Linked DNA regions of Homo sapiens: region 2 is linked to region 1. The links are contacts of gene promoters, found by promoter capture Hi-C in human tissues and cell types (Jung and others, 2019). All regions are on one chromosome and are shown on one strand. The core of a region is centred on a gene start or on the middle of the fragment in contact, and the rest is flanking DNA. Distances in the headings are between cores, read along the strand shown. Region 1 holds the start of PARD3 (par-3 family cell polarity regulator). Region 2 overlaps PARD3 (par-3 family cell polarity regulator).

Region 1 (6,676 bases), core at 2,261-4,760:
TCCACATATCCTGATGTCATCTCTGTTATGAAAGCTTCCCCCTTCTCTAGTACCGCCATAAACACTTTGCTGGCACTGAATATTTAATGTGTTGAATTATAGTTATTGGAATAGCTATCTTATTCTGACCTCTAGATTGTCCTTCTTTTACTCACCTTTATAATTCTGTAATATTTAGCCAGTGCTTCCTGCAAGGAAGGTCTTTACTAACTGCATGTGGAATCAAATTTAAGTGAATTGAGTGCAGGCCTGAGAGTCAGAGCTGGAGTTTTTGGTTGTAGTCCTAGCCCAGTCACTGGAAAGTTGTATCACCTGGCTAGTCATTTCTTTGAGCCTTGGTCTTCTCCTGTCCTCCTCATCTCTCCTGCCTCCTCCACTGTCATCATTTGCTATCCTGTGCTGGACTTTGTTACCCTCTGCCTTCATTACGGTAACTGGACTGTACTACGCTATACATTCCCATGTGGCAGCGTGGCAGCATGTACTGTTTTTTTTTTTTTCTTTTGAGACAGAGTTTCATTCTTGTTGCCCTCGGCTCACCGCAACCTCGGCCTCCTGGGTTCAAGCGATTCTCCTGCTTCAGCCTCCCGAGTAGCTGGGATTACAGGCATGTGCCACCATGCCCGGCTAATTTTGTATTTTTAGTAGAGACGGGGTTTCTCCATGTTGGTCAGGCTGGTCTCGAACTCCCGAGCTCAGGTATCTGCCCACTTCGGCCTCCCAAAATGCTGGGATTACAGGCGTGAGCCACCATACCCAGCCGTACTGTTTTCTGATACATTATTTTATTTAACATTCATAACTTATGACCAGGTGCCGTGGCTCACACCTGTAATCCCAGCACTATGGGAGGCTGAAGCGGGAGAATCGCTTGAGGACAGGAGTTCAAGACCAGCCTGGGCCACATAGTGAGACCTTATCTCTACAAACAATTTAAAAATTAGCTGGGCATAGTGGTATTTGTCTGTAGTCTTAGCTGCTCTAGAGGCTGAGGAAGGATTGCTTGAGCCTGGGAGTCTGAGGCAGCAGTGAGCTAAGATTGTGCCATTGCCCTTTAGCCTGAACAACAGAGCAAGACTCTATCTCAAAAAAAAAGAAAGACTGACTCATAACCTATGAGATCTATGAGATGGATATGGATATGATAAGCTCTACTTCTCTACTTTTCAGCTGATAAAACGGGCTGGAGAAAGAGTGACTGTTGTGTCTAAGGCACTAGTAAGTGGCCAAATATGGATCTGAACCTAGATCAGTGTGATGTCCTATGTACTCTGGTTATTACTGAAAAATGACTTTCGATTAGAATTATTTTGAGAAAGCCCCACTCTAATTTATTATACTCAAGCTAGTATACCCCTCTGAACTAGTGTAGCATCAAAACTAGTATACATTCTCTGCCGCGCGGTGGCTCACGCTGCAATCCCAGCACTTTGGGAGGCTGAGGCGGGCGGATTGACCAGCCTGGCCAGCATGGTGAGACCCTGTCTCTAACTGAAAATACAATAATTAGCTGGGCGTGGTGGCGGGCACCTATAATCCCAGCTACTCGGGAGGCGGAGGCAGGAGAATCATTTGAATCCAGAAGGCGGAGGTTGCACTGAGCCGAAATCACGCCACTGCGCTCCAGCCTGCGCAACAGAGCGAGACTTGGTCTCAAAATAAATAAATAAATAAATAAATAAAAATAAATACATAAATAAATGTAAAAAACACAAAATAAAATAAAGTAGTATACATTCTAAACTAGTAGTATACTCTCCCAATGCATGAAAACAGAAACAACACCTATAATTATCAGTAATTGTTGTTGTGGATCCAAGTATCTATGTAAGAAGCAAAAAACCCACATCAACAGTTGTTGTCATCGTTGTCACAAACTTAATTACTGGCTAGAAATGTCTAGTGCTGCAGCCAAACAGCAGTAGGAGGAGCCTTTCCCATGGCTGAGTGGAAGGAGGGAAACCTAGACTATTTCTGGGTCTGCCTTGAGCTTTCTCTGCCGCCTTGGGCAAGTGACTTTGGCCCTGGGTCAATGTCCTGGAGTAAGATGGGGCTAACACCACTGCACTGATTTGCTGGGACAGGTGGTGGAAAGTGGTGGTCCAGGGCTGGGAGAGGAGAGGAAGGGCAATGTTTCCTAGGAGAAACTGCACTATGCTGGGGCAGCTGCGGTGCTGCAAAGCGCAGGGAGTGTGGCAAGCGGACGAACCTCGTGTCTTGTTTCCTTGTTTTAAGATTGGAGGTGGAGTGGGATGGATGGTCGATCGCCAGCTCTTCCAGCTCTTAAGTGCTCAAGTTCTGCGCCAACCCAGGGGAGCTTGATTGCTTTCACGTGTCTTGGAAACAACTGGCAAAAAAGAATTTCACATAGTCTGGAAAGGGCTTGGGACAGGGACCACTCTTTGCAGACATTTGTCATTCTTTAAACATAATGACATACATTTATTAAGGACTCATAGTCCATAACTAAGACAAAATGAGCTTCAGTTACGTTCCCTAACTCGGTCCACGTTCCTTTAGAACGTCTCAAGCCCGCATGTCACTCATCGCGGAGTCGCAGCCTTCCCCTGGGTTCGGGCGTCTGCGTTAAGCGCCGGCACATCGTGGGGATCCCCGCGTGAGATTTCTCTGCGCCGTCGGAATAGACTGTTCACGGATTCGCGTTAGGATTCCTTATGCTGCAGAACTTCAAAGAAATAAATGTATCAGAATTGCGATGTTTAAGTTCTAATCTATTTAAGCGGGTGGGTCAGCAGAGGGTCAACAGGAAACTTCAAGGTAAATAGTGGCCTCTGGAAAAGGCCCGGTCGCTCACGGCTTCCCCACTGTCTCCCCAGAGCAGACTATTAATTCTTGCGTTTCAGGCAGAACTGCCGCTGCCGGCCCTGCAGCAGAGCTAGGGAGCGGGCAGGGCAGAAACCCAGCCGAGCAAGCTGCAGGCTCGAGTCCCCGCGGGCGGAGAGGCTCGGGCTGGAGCCTCCGGGGCGGTGAGGAGGGGACTCACCGCACTGAGCACAAACTGCTTTCCCCGGGAGCGCCTGCACCCAAAACCCTCCAGTTCGAGGAATGGGATTAAAAGTGACAAAGAAAGGGGAAGGGGGGCTCCGTGGAGACTTCTGGAGGCGTGGAAGGGGCGTCCCCGAGGAGGGGCGACGCAGCCCTGCAGGGTGCTGGGCGGGCGGGGTGAAGGGGGCTGGGGGGCGCCTGGGCCAGGGCTGGTGGGGGCAGACGGCCGCCTGCCCGTGCTGGCACTGGGGCGAGGGGTCCCGCGCCCCCGGAGGGAGGGAGGGAGGGAGGGAAGGAGGGAAGGAGGTCGGCCCCCGAGGGCGGTGGCGGGGGCGCGAGCTGCGGTCCTGCGCTCCGCCCCGCGCGGGTAGCCGGCCGCGCCTCCCCCTGCCGCATGTGCGCGGTGTTGTGTGCCCTGCCCTGCTCCTCCCCCTCCCCTCCCCTCCCCTCCCCTCCCCTCCCGCCGTCCCCTCCCCCAGCGGCCCCGAGCGAGCGCCAGCGCCACACAGCCCCGGGCAGCCGCCGGCGAGCGCGCCGCGACGCCGAACAGGTGGCCGGAGGCTGCGGGCGCCGCGGCGGGGAGAGGCGAGGCAAGCCCCGGGCGAAGCGAGGCGAGGCGAGGGCGGCCGGGCCGGGCATGCGAGCTGAGCGGCCCCCCGGCGTCGCCGCCGCCTGCCCGCGCCCCTAGCCGCCCGCGCGCCCGAGTCCCCAGCGGCTCCTCCGCGCCCAGCGTCCTCGGTCCCGGCCTCGGCTGCTCCGGCTGCGCTCGGCGAGGGGCGCGGGCCCGCCCGCGGCGGCGGCGGCATGAAAGTGACCGTGTGCTTCGGACGGACCCGGGTGGTCGTGCCGTGCGGGGACGGCCACATGAAAGTTTTCAGCCTCATCCAGCAGGCGGTGACCCGCTACCGGAAGGCCATCGCCAAGGTGAGGGGCCGGGGGCGCGGGCGGGGAGGGGGCGGCGGCGGGGACGGCGCCGGGATCAATATGGCGCTTCCTGGAAGGGGGAGGAGAGGCGCAGGGAGGCGGGGAAAGGGAAAGTGCGGCCGGTCGGGCCTCGCGGGCGCCCCCCGCCCCGGACTGCGGGCGCCAAAGTTCTCTGCGCGGGCCGGGGCGCAGCCTCTGGGACACCCAGCCGGGTCCCGCGGCCCCCGCCCTCACCCTCCGCCCGGGAGCTCCGGCCTCGGTAGCGCGGGGCGAGCCGGGCAGCGGCGCATAGGCCGGCCCTGGGCGCCTCCCCGGAGTCTGCAGACCCAGCCAAGCCCCGAGCCAGCGCGCGGGGGGCGCAGGCCGGGAAATCCAGCCCCAGGCCTTTCCCGGCTCCCAGGCCCCGGGGGCACAGGCCGGGGACTGGGAACTTTTGGTGTGAGGAGAGTTTCGTGACTGCCCTTCCGACAGAGGCGGGTTGCGAGCCTTCTGCCTCCTCTCCCTTACTCGGGCGGGGGCGGAACAGCGGCGGGGGGCTTTTCCTCCATGTCCCCTGCTGGTAGGGGCCGGCAGGGGCGGCCCGTCGCGTCCGGGGGCTGCAGGGTTTGGGGAGTCGCCGGCTTGGGGTCGGGGAGGCGTTCCCGGGAGGGCCACCGCTGGCACTTGGCACTCGCTTGCGAGCATTTACTGAGCTGATCCCACTTGCTGGGCTCTGGAAAGCACAACCTTGGAAGAGTCGCGGAATGAAAAGTTTTCCTGCGAGGACCTCAGCTCCTACCTATCCCGGGCTGGTTCCATGTGGCTGGGCTGCGGGGCCGGGCCTGACTTGGGAGTTGAGTGGATTTCCCTTTTTCCTGGTGGACTGATAACATTGTCTCCACTTCACAGCATTCCTCTACTGTGTGTCAGAAGTGAAAAGGCGTTTTGTTAAATTGTTTTACCGACTGTGTCTGTGTTTGACAACAGCCCACGCTGAAGTTTCTCCCAAGCACCCGGGGATATATTTCCTTTGTAGTAGAGTCCTCTTTGGTGGGGAGCGCATTCGTTTGGGTGCAGTATTTCCCATTTGTTCCCGACAGTGGCCTGGCCCCTGTGGGCTTGGGGGCTGCAAATGACGTTGGAAAGTGGCTTGGTCAGCCCTATTGAGCGTACACAGGGTACTCCGGTGGCATCTTCAGTTCTCTCAGAAATTAAGAAGTAAAAGCTTTTTAGACTTTTGTTTTGCTTTTAGTATATATTGGAAAAAATAGCATAAATTTGGCCTTTTAAAGATAATTTTGGGGGACGTTTGGAGACCCGACACAAGGATGGAAGACGTTGGCTTTAGTAGCTCTGTTATGTTCCTTACAGTTGAACTCTTTTATTGAAAATCAAATAAAATTAGTGGGAATTGGGCACCTGTTTATCTTGCAAAGCTGACAAAGGGAAAGAAAACCATCTAAATGGACATTTAGCATTTTTAAGTGTTGTTTATGTGTGACAGTTTATGCTTTAAATGTTCCAAAAGAGTACTCAAATTGTTCAGGCACTCTGGAAACCAACAAAACAAATTGTGCAAGGAAAGAGAAATAAAGTAATATGCACTCTGCAGTACGTCTAGGCTCCTGAATAGGAAGAGGGTGGTCAACATTTTCTTTCACTTTACTAATTTTATGTGATTAAAATTGTTTTACCTACTGTGTCCCATGTTTCATCCTGCACAAAATAGACATAGGCTGAACTGCCTGTTTGGCAGTAGTTCAAATGTAGTTGTTCCAGGCATTCGTTCCACAGAAATTCTGAAGCTTTGACTGTGTCCATGGCACTGTTCTGGGTGCTGGACATCTAAGGGACCCACTGGCTGTGAGAAGCTGAGCAAGAGGCTGCGGGGTCCTCCAGGTGAAGGAGCTGGTGATGACATGGGGAGAAGAGGTGGCCTCTGGGATGCTGGGTGGCTAGAGTGCAGGGCCTTGGTCACGGACCTGGTCCTTATTAACGATTAGCAGTGGTTGTTTCACAGGGCGTAGAAAAGGGAGTGCAGTTTTTTAAGGGTGTCTGGGAAGGTGTCACAAAGAGAAAAGGGGCCTATGAGCTGAAGGAAGGGAGGGTGATAGTGACATGGGAGTTGGAGATGAGAGGGAGGGTCAGAGATGGGTCAGGGGTTCCAACACTTACATGCTCTTTAAGTACAACTTAGAGTTCTGTAGGTGAATTTTAACGGGGGCTTTGCAGTATACCAAGTTCAGTCATTGGATCCCAAGATTGTTGACCCTTAAATGTTGCCAGAGCTGGAGTGTCTTCTAGGTCTCCTTTTTCTCGTTTTTCTTCTGAAATTGCTAGACAATGATTAAGATTAATTTTTAGTCTTTCTTACTACTTTTCCCATTCTATATTAAGTGATGAGGAAGTGTTAATATGTATTTAACACTGTTTTAACTTTTATTCTCTATCTGTTCCTTATCCGTATTGCCTAATAGAACAAGAGAAATTCTGTGTGAAGAATTGGGTGGCTGGATAGTTGTGGAGTGGTGTTTAGGTTGCTAGGTGACATGTGGCTTGATGAGCTCCCATCTGGTGGGGAAAAGTGTGGGCAGATCATGTTTATGGCTTTGGATAATAACCAACCAAGCCAAAAATAAAAAATAAAAAGGAAAAGAGAAAGGTCCCAACTCTCAAATCACCAAGGCTTTCTCTGCAGTAAACATTTTCTGGTGTGGTGGGGCTAATTTTCTGGCATTGCATGTGAGCTGTTTTCTCTTCAGATTAC
Region 2 (6,086 bases), core at 1,727-4,226, 42 kb after region 1:
GTTTAGATCTGCTGTTTTAAAAACTGAGCTCCCTAGCCAGTCAGATTAATTGCTTTGGATCATGCCATTCTGTCTTTCTCAGATTGTCGTATGTTAGTGTCTCCTGTGCCACATAAATAGTAATCTCTTGTAGGTGTCTGAGGTATATTTTTCTTGGACTTGTCAAAATTAGTTCTCAGAGCTTAGAGATGGTGTCCTGCTGGGTTTATTGTTCCCTTGTCTTCTTGTTACTAGTTCCAAAATTATATTCTCACTTTCTTCCAGGGTTCTTGGCTGCCTAACTGATCAATTCTTTTTTGGTCAGAGTTATGGATGAATTTTATTGGCTTCGTACTTTTCCAAAATTTCAACCATGAGCCTATAGGGTTGTATATATAAATTTTTAGTAGAGACAAGGTCTTACTGTGTTGCCCAGGCTGATCTCGAACTCCTGAGCTCAATCAATCCTTCTGCCTTGGTCTCCCGAAGTGCTGGGATTACAGGTGTAAGCCACCATGCCTGGCCATATATTACTTTGTAAAATGAACAAAGTTATTAATTGAAAAGCATGAAGGTGGTGAGGATGATAGCTTTGCTTATTGCTTTTTCAGAGGTGGGTCAAGAGTTCTTATGATATGTCTTTTAAATTCTAGAATAATACCTACAGATTTCTCTTTACATCTTGATTCTGTACAAATTTGTGTGGTTTAAAAAAATGAGAGAGTTCTCTCCACTTCTTTGGTTTCTTTAGGCAGTAAGTGACAAACTCTCATAGCAATACTTCATCTACTTTGCTTTCCTTTATATTTGCACCCAAATTTCTTCATTCTCTCACGCATATATCTCTTGTAGTAGATTGTTTGGACAAAGGGCACCTTGAACTGGCAGCCTTGCATTCTGCTTGCCTGCCCAGGCTTGGTCCTGTAAGGAGACTTGTCCTTTCTTTTTGTTTGTTTTTTGAGATAGGGTCTTGCTCTGATGTCCAGGCTGGAGTGCAGTTGTGCATCACAGCTCACTGCAGCCTCAAACTCCTGGGCTAAAGTGATCCTCCTGTCTCAGCCTCTCAAGTAGCTGGGACTGCAGGCACACACCACCATGCCTGGCTAGTTTTTTTGCAGAGATGAGGTCTTGCTTTGTTGCCCAGGCTGGTCTCAACTCCTGACCTCAAGCGATCCTCCTGCTTCAGCCTCCGAAACTGTTGGGATTACAGGTGTGAGCCACCATGCCTGACTGATTTGTTCCTTTTGGTGGTCAATCTTGGTTCAGTAGTATATAAATTTAGAGTGCTGCTGTATTTTGAGCAGCTGCTCTGTCATATGAGCTTGAAATATTGGGTTCTATGCTGCTTCTATGTTGTGTAAGTCTCCAAACTGAAAGGATTTGTGACTTTAAAAAATGCCCACTTTTGCTCATATTTTTTGTTTCCTTTATTTGTTTGGCACTTGTTTTCACAGCGGTGACTTCAGAGCACAATTACTGAGAAACCTTGAGTGTTGATGTAAATCCTCCACTGGGTTCTACTATTACATACATCTTCGTAACTAGGTAAACTTCCAGGAGTCACTGAAATTTGGTATCTGTAAATGAAAAATTATATCAAATACAGATACCAGTGAAATTGCTAGATTTCATTGATGATTTCAGTTCAGTATTCTAAAGTCTGGATGTCACTTAGTACTTGGCAGGATTGCAAAGCAATGACATATGTGCATGCAGGTAGTTTTAATTCAAGCCAATTGTGAGAAGGATGTTTTATTGGTATAAGATCAGTGTAGTGTTGAGTTGGTTGTGGTTTTCAATTGCTGCTTTTGTTTTGGTTTTAAATTATAAATTAGTTCATTTGTCTTTATCATCAGTTTACAGTTGCATTGTGTCATGTGCATTTAACTTATACTAATTCAAGTCTCAATGTTTGCTTAAAAATAATTAACAATATGTATTTTTTTCATGCAACATCTCCTTAAATACAGGCCAGATGCGTTTCTTCTGGTATTCAACCATAGAAACAGCAATCCCTTCCAATGCTGCAGGAAAATTGGCAGGGTTAGGCTTTGTGAAAGGTAATGCAGCACTCAGAAAACCACATGTGCTTACTGTGTGTGCTATTTAAGTAATTTTCAAGGATAATTTTGTCTTAACCTTAGCCTTGATTTTAGAAGCCAAGCCTTGCCTAAAAGGTGACTCCGTGCAGTTTGTGGAGAGTTCTTTGGCCAGATCTATAGGATGTAGTGCTGTGTTTTTAGCATCAGTAGTGCTTTGGAGTTATAATTTCCTAATAATGAGAATTGAAGTCAGGTATGTTTTGCTGTTAAAATATGACTCATTTGTGACTCTGTTTCTAAATAGGTGTGTATTTTCTCCCCTCTGTTTACGTGGTGATAGTCCATTTTTATCACTGAGTTTGTTCTAGTGGAAAGCAGTAGTGGGTGAGAAATGTGGACTGTGTTTAGTAACTTGGAAAGCCACTGGCTTAAAGTAAAGCACATTTTATTTCCCAGAGGTGGGAGTCCTTGGGGGTAGTGATAATGTTGGTTTACTTCTGAACATTTATCCAACTAATCAGTGATGGAATTAAGTCTCTATTATTCTTTCATATTATGAAAGCTTCTAATTGAAAATGCAAAACAATTATGAGGCACTTTAACCCCATCAAGTTTATGAGAAGAACATTAAGTGCCTAGTGGATGTTTGCCCAAAGGACCCAAGTGGGCAATTCACAAAGGAGGGAATTAACCAGTAAAAAGCCACAGAAAAGCACCGAATAAACCTAGTCTTCAGAGACTCAAAAGTTAAAATATTATCCTATATCCTGTTAAATTGGCAAAACCAAAAATGATTAACATACCTGACGCTGCAAAGTCACAGTGGCCTGGTGCATTTGGACGTTGTTGGTGATGTTGTGTAAAAGACTGCATCTTCTCGGAACAGCAATTTGGCATGATTATCAAGATCTACAAAAATGTTCATGCCCTTGCAGTCCTCTGTAATACTTGTTATCCCTAGGGAACTGAAATTATGGGTAAGGATATTCAGTCCCACATTATTTAATTTCCGAAACCATTAGAATAGCTTCAGAAGTTCAACAAGAGGAAAATGGTGAAGTCAGCCACGGTTATTCATTAGAAGAAACAACATAGAGTCTATATAGCAGAATGAAACATGCTTGTACTAGGCCAAGTGAAAAAAGGTAAAACATTAAATGAACACTGATGAGAACAAGGTTAAACATGTTATAACTAACATAATATCTAAGTGTTATTAGTTGTGGGGCAAGCGTTTATAGATGTATTTTCTCTTTTTTTGTTTATAATTAAATTCCTCATCAAAGTAAAGAGAACATTAAAGAATTAGATAAGGCTATGGTAGGATGAAAATGAGATGCTGGGATGACTTTGTTTTAAATCCAAGGAGATGTGTCAGCTGTTTTTGGTGTGCCGTGTGGTTCTACAAACTGCTCATTTGCTGTGTAAATGGATGTAGCTTTCCAAGATGCCTGGGTATGAATGAGAAGTAATTTTGGTAAAGTAACATGTTAAGGGCATATTTTAAAGTTCACATTCCATCTGCTGAGTGTTCTGTATTTGCAAAGGTATTTATTACAGGCTTTCTTGCTCCGTTGAGAATACAAGCTATAGAACCATGTAGAAATAGTTTTTTTTTTTTTTTTTTTTTTTTAGATGGAGTCTTGCTGTGTCACCCAGGCTGGAGTGCAGTGGTGCGATCTCGGCTCACTGCAACCTCTGCCTCCCGGGTTCAAGCAATTCTCCTGCCTCAGCCTCCCGAGTAGCTGGAGTTACAGGCGTCCACCACCACGCTTGGCTAATTTTTTTGTATTTTTAGTAGAGACAGGGTTTCTCTATGTTGGCCAGGCTGGTCTCGAACTCCTGAGCTCAAGTAATCCACCCGCCTCAGCCTCCCAAAGTGCTGGGATTACAGGCGTGAGCCACCATGCCCGGCGTGTATTCCTCATTTTAAAGCTTTAGATCATTTGTATTTACTTTGATTTAAAGATACTGTCTTACATTTGATATTGTCAGTTGGTATCAACATTTAAAAACAGGTTTACAATTGATAATGAGAAAATAACTTTTATTCGAGGAATGCAAGTCCTTTTATTTTTTATTTGTTTTTGAGATGGAGTCTTGCTCTGTCACCCAGGCTGAAGTAGCTGGGATTACAGGGGGCCTTGCTAATTTTTTGTATTTTTAGTAGAGACGGGCTTTCACTATGTTGGCCAGGCTGGTCTCGAACTCCTGAGCTCAAGTGATCCACCCGCCTCAGCCTCCCAAAGTCCGGGGATTACAGGTGTGAGCCACCACGCCCAGTGAGCTTGGGTTTTCTGCTATAGAACTGACCAGGGCATTCTGGATTTGTGAGTGAAAGCAGGAACCCCTGGAGGGGTGCATCTTGCATTCTGCTTGTTGGGCGAGATGAATGTAGGCCACTCTACCTTCCAGACTGCAGAACTTCCTTGGTATTTACCTTTGTGAAAGGGATCCACAAATGACTTTTTACCCCTGCCAGGGGTTGATGGAAGTTGTTTCCAGGTGTGACCCATCTTCATTGGCTTATCCTGGCGAGCTGTTAGGAAAAAGTGTCATTTTAACTTGCTGTATTCCTCTGAAGCTCCAGAATACAAGATCTGAGCTCACTCTGTTGAAAAACTCCTTTGTTTCTACCTGAAAGCACAGGATGTTCATTTCTATCAGATCAGTTCTTTTCTGTATACCAGCCTGAACATGTGTGTGTCTTTGTCTAAGCACCTCTTGCTTCATAAGATACACCACCAAATTGAAAAGAGTTAGTGACAACTGTTCCTTGGCTGGCATCAAAACCAGACACCAAAGAAAAGCCAGCAAGTAATTTTGTAAGACTAGGTCGGGCTGACCGACGTCATTTTTCTTTCTCAGTTTTGTGTAACTTTTCTGTTTTAAAAAATTGTTTTGCATTAACACGCTGACAGAAATATGCTGCTAATGACATAGTCATGATCTTGATGATGGTGATAATAACTGTAGCCAGCCTTCCTTCACTCTTTGCTCCCCATGTGCCAGGCACTATGCTACACGTGGGACCCCTTTAATCTCACAGTGATCCTGTGTGGGGGGCATAGTTGTTGCTGTTACCTCAGATGAAGAGGGGAGGCTGAGCAATGTTGAGTCAAACCACAGGGACAGGCAGAGCCACGTTCTGAGCTGCACCGTCTTTCTTCCTGATGTAACCATTGTGCCCAGCACATTTAGCATCACCATTTGCTTTCAAAAGCCAGAACATTTTAATCAGAGGAATGCAAACTTTTAAAAGACATTATGAATTTACTTTTTGTGCAGTTTCCTGATGAAAATCACAGGGCTTGCATGTTTTCAAGTGACCAATTTTAATACTAGGTTGGTATTCTTCCTTCCCTCCTTCCTCTTGTCTCTCCGTCTTTCCCTTTTATGTCTTCCATCACAGGGAGTTCTGCATCTCCGTTGCAGAACAACCCTGTAGACTTTTAGGGTTTTGAGTTCCCAGAGGAGCATCTCAAAGCCTTTCCAAATCCAATGATGTCAGACCTTAAAGATCACGGGGCCCAGGGCTGGCAAATCCATGGCCTCACTTTGCTGCCCACCTTTCCGGGTCTGTCATGGAAACTGAGAACAGGGCACATCCCTGTCTGGAGTCTTGGAATCTCTACATCATTGCAGGTGATACCCCTAGGAAACTGGAACTTAAGATACAATTTATCTGCCTTTCCTAATTTACTCTGAAAGCAAAAGTTCTAGATTAGATTCCTGTGGTCCGTGGTGGGAGAGTCATCTGTCCAAGGCCACATACCTTGTAAGTGGCAGGTGAGTCTTGACTGCAAGGCTAGCGTTTTCTGCTCTGCCGGGACACCTTGATTTTCTCAGAATGCAGGTCCAGCGCAAGAGTTTCCTGCTCAGAAATGCCCATGGCTCCCTTTCACTTACAGTTCTTCCTGACCCTCAGGGCCTCTAGGATGAAAAGTCTGGGAGCAAGTTACTTCATCACATCCAGATAACCCTTTTATGTGCAGGGTGTTTGGTTGGAGGTGCTGCCCTCAAGGCGTTTACAGGCTAGCCGAGGGCTCGAGGTGTCATCTCCGT

What was found. Contacts are between HindIII fragments. The study calls those that stand out against the background at their distance.
Region 2: a contact is called between a fragment that was not itself captured here and the fragment with the promoter of PARD3 in region 1, in 1 of the 25 tissues and cell types used here (dorsolateral prefrontal cortex).

The regions. Positions count from the first base shown.
Region 1 is chr10:34,812,130-34,818,805 of GRCh38, reverse strand. It overlaps PARD3 (par-3 family cell polarity regulator), which reads left to right and starts at 3,510. Exons shown (of 25, transcript NM_001184785.2): 1 at 3,510-3,930. The coding sequence starts at 3,811. It overlaps PARD3-DT (PARD3 divergent transcript), which reads right to left and starts at 3,038. Exons shown (of 2, transcript NR_108043.1): 1 at 3,005-3,038; 2 at 2,384-2,686. RefSeq lists silencers at 3,162-3,211, 3,302-3,471, 3,992-4,271. The HindIII fragment of the contact is 8,052 bases long and covers 1-5,424 here.
Region 2 is chr10:34,770,361-34,776,446 of GRCh38, reverse strand. The region is part of intron 1 of PARD3 (par-3 family cell polarity regulator); the gene reads left to right. Among named protein-coding and RNA genes, the nearest start is that of PARD3, 42 kb to the left of the region's middle. The HindIII fragment of the contact is 5,152 bases long and covers 401-5,552 here.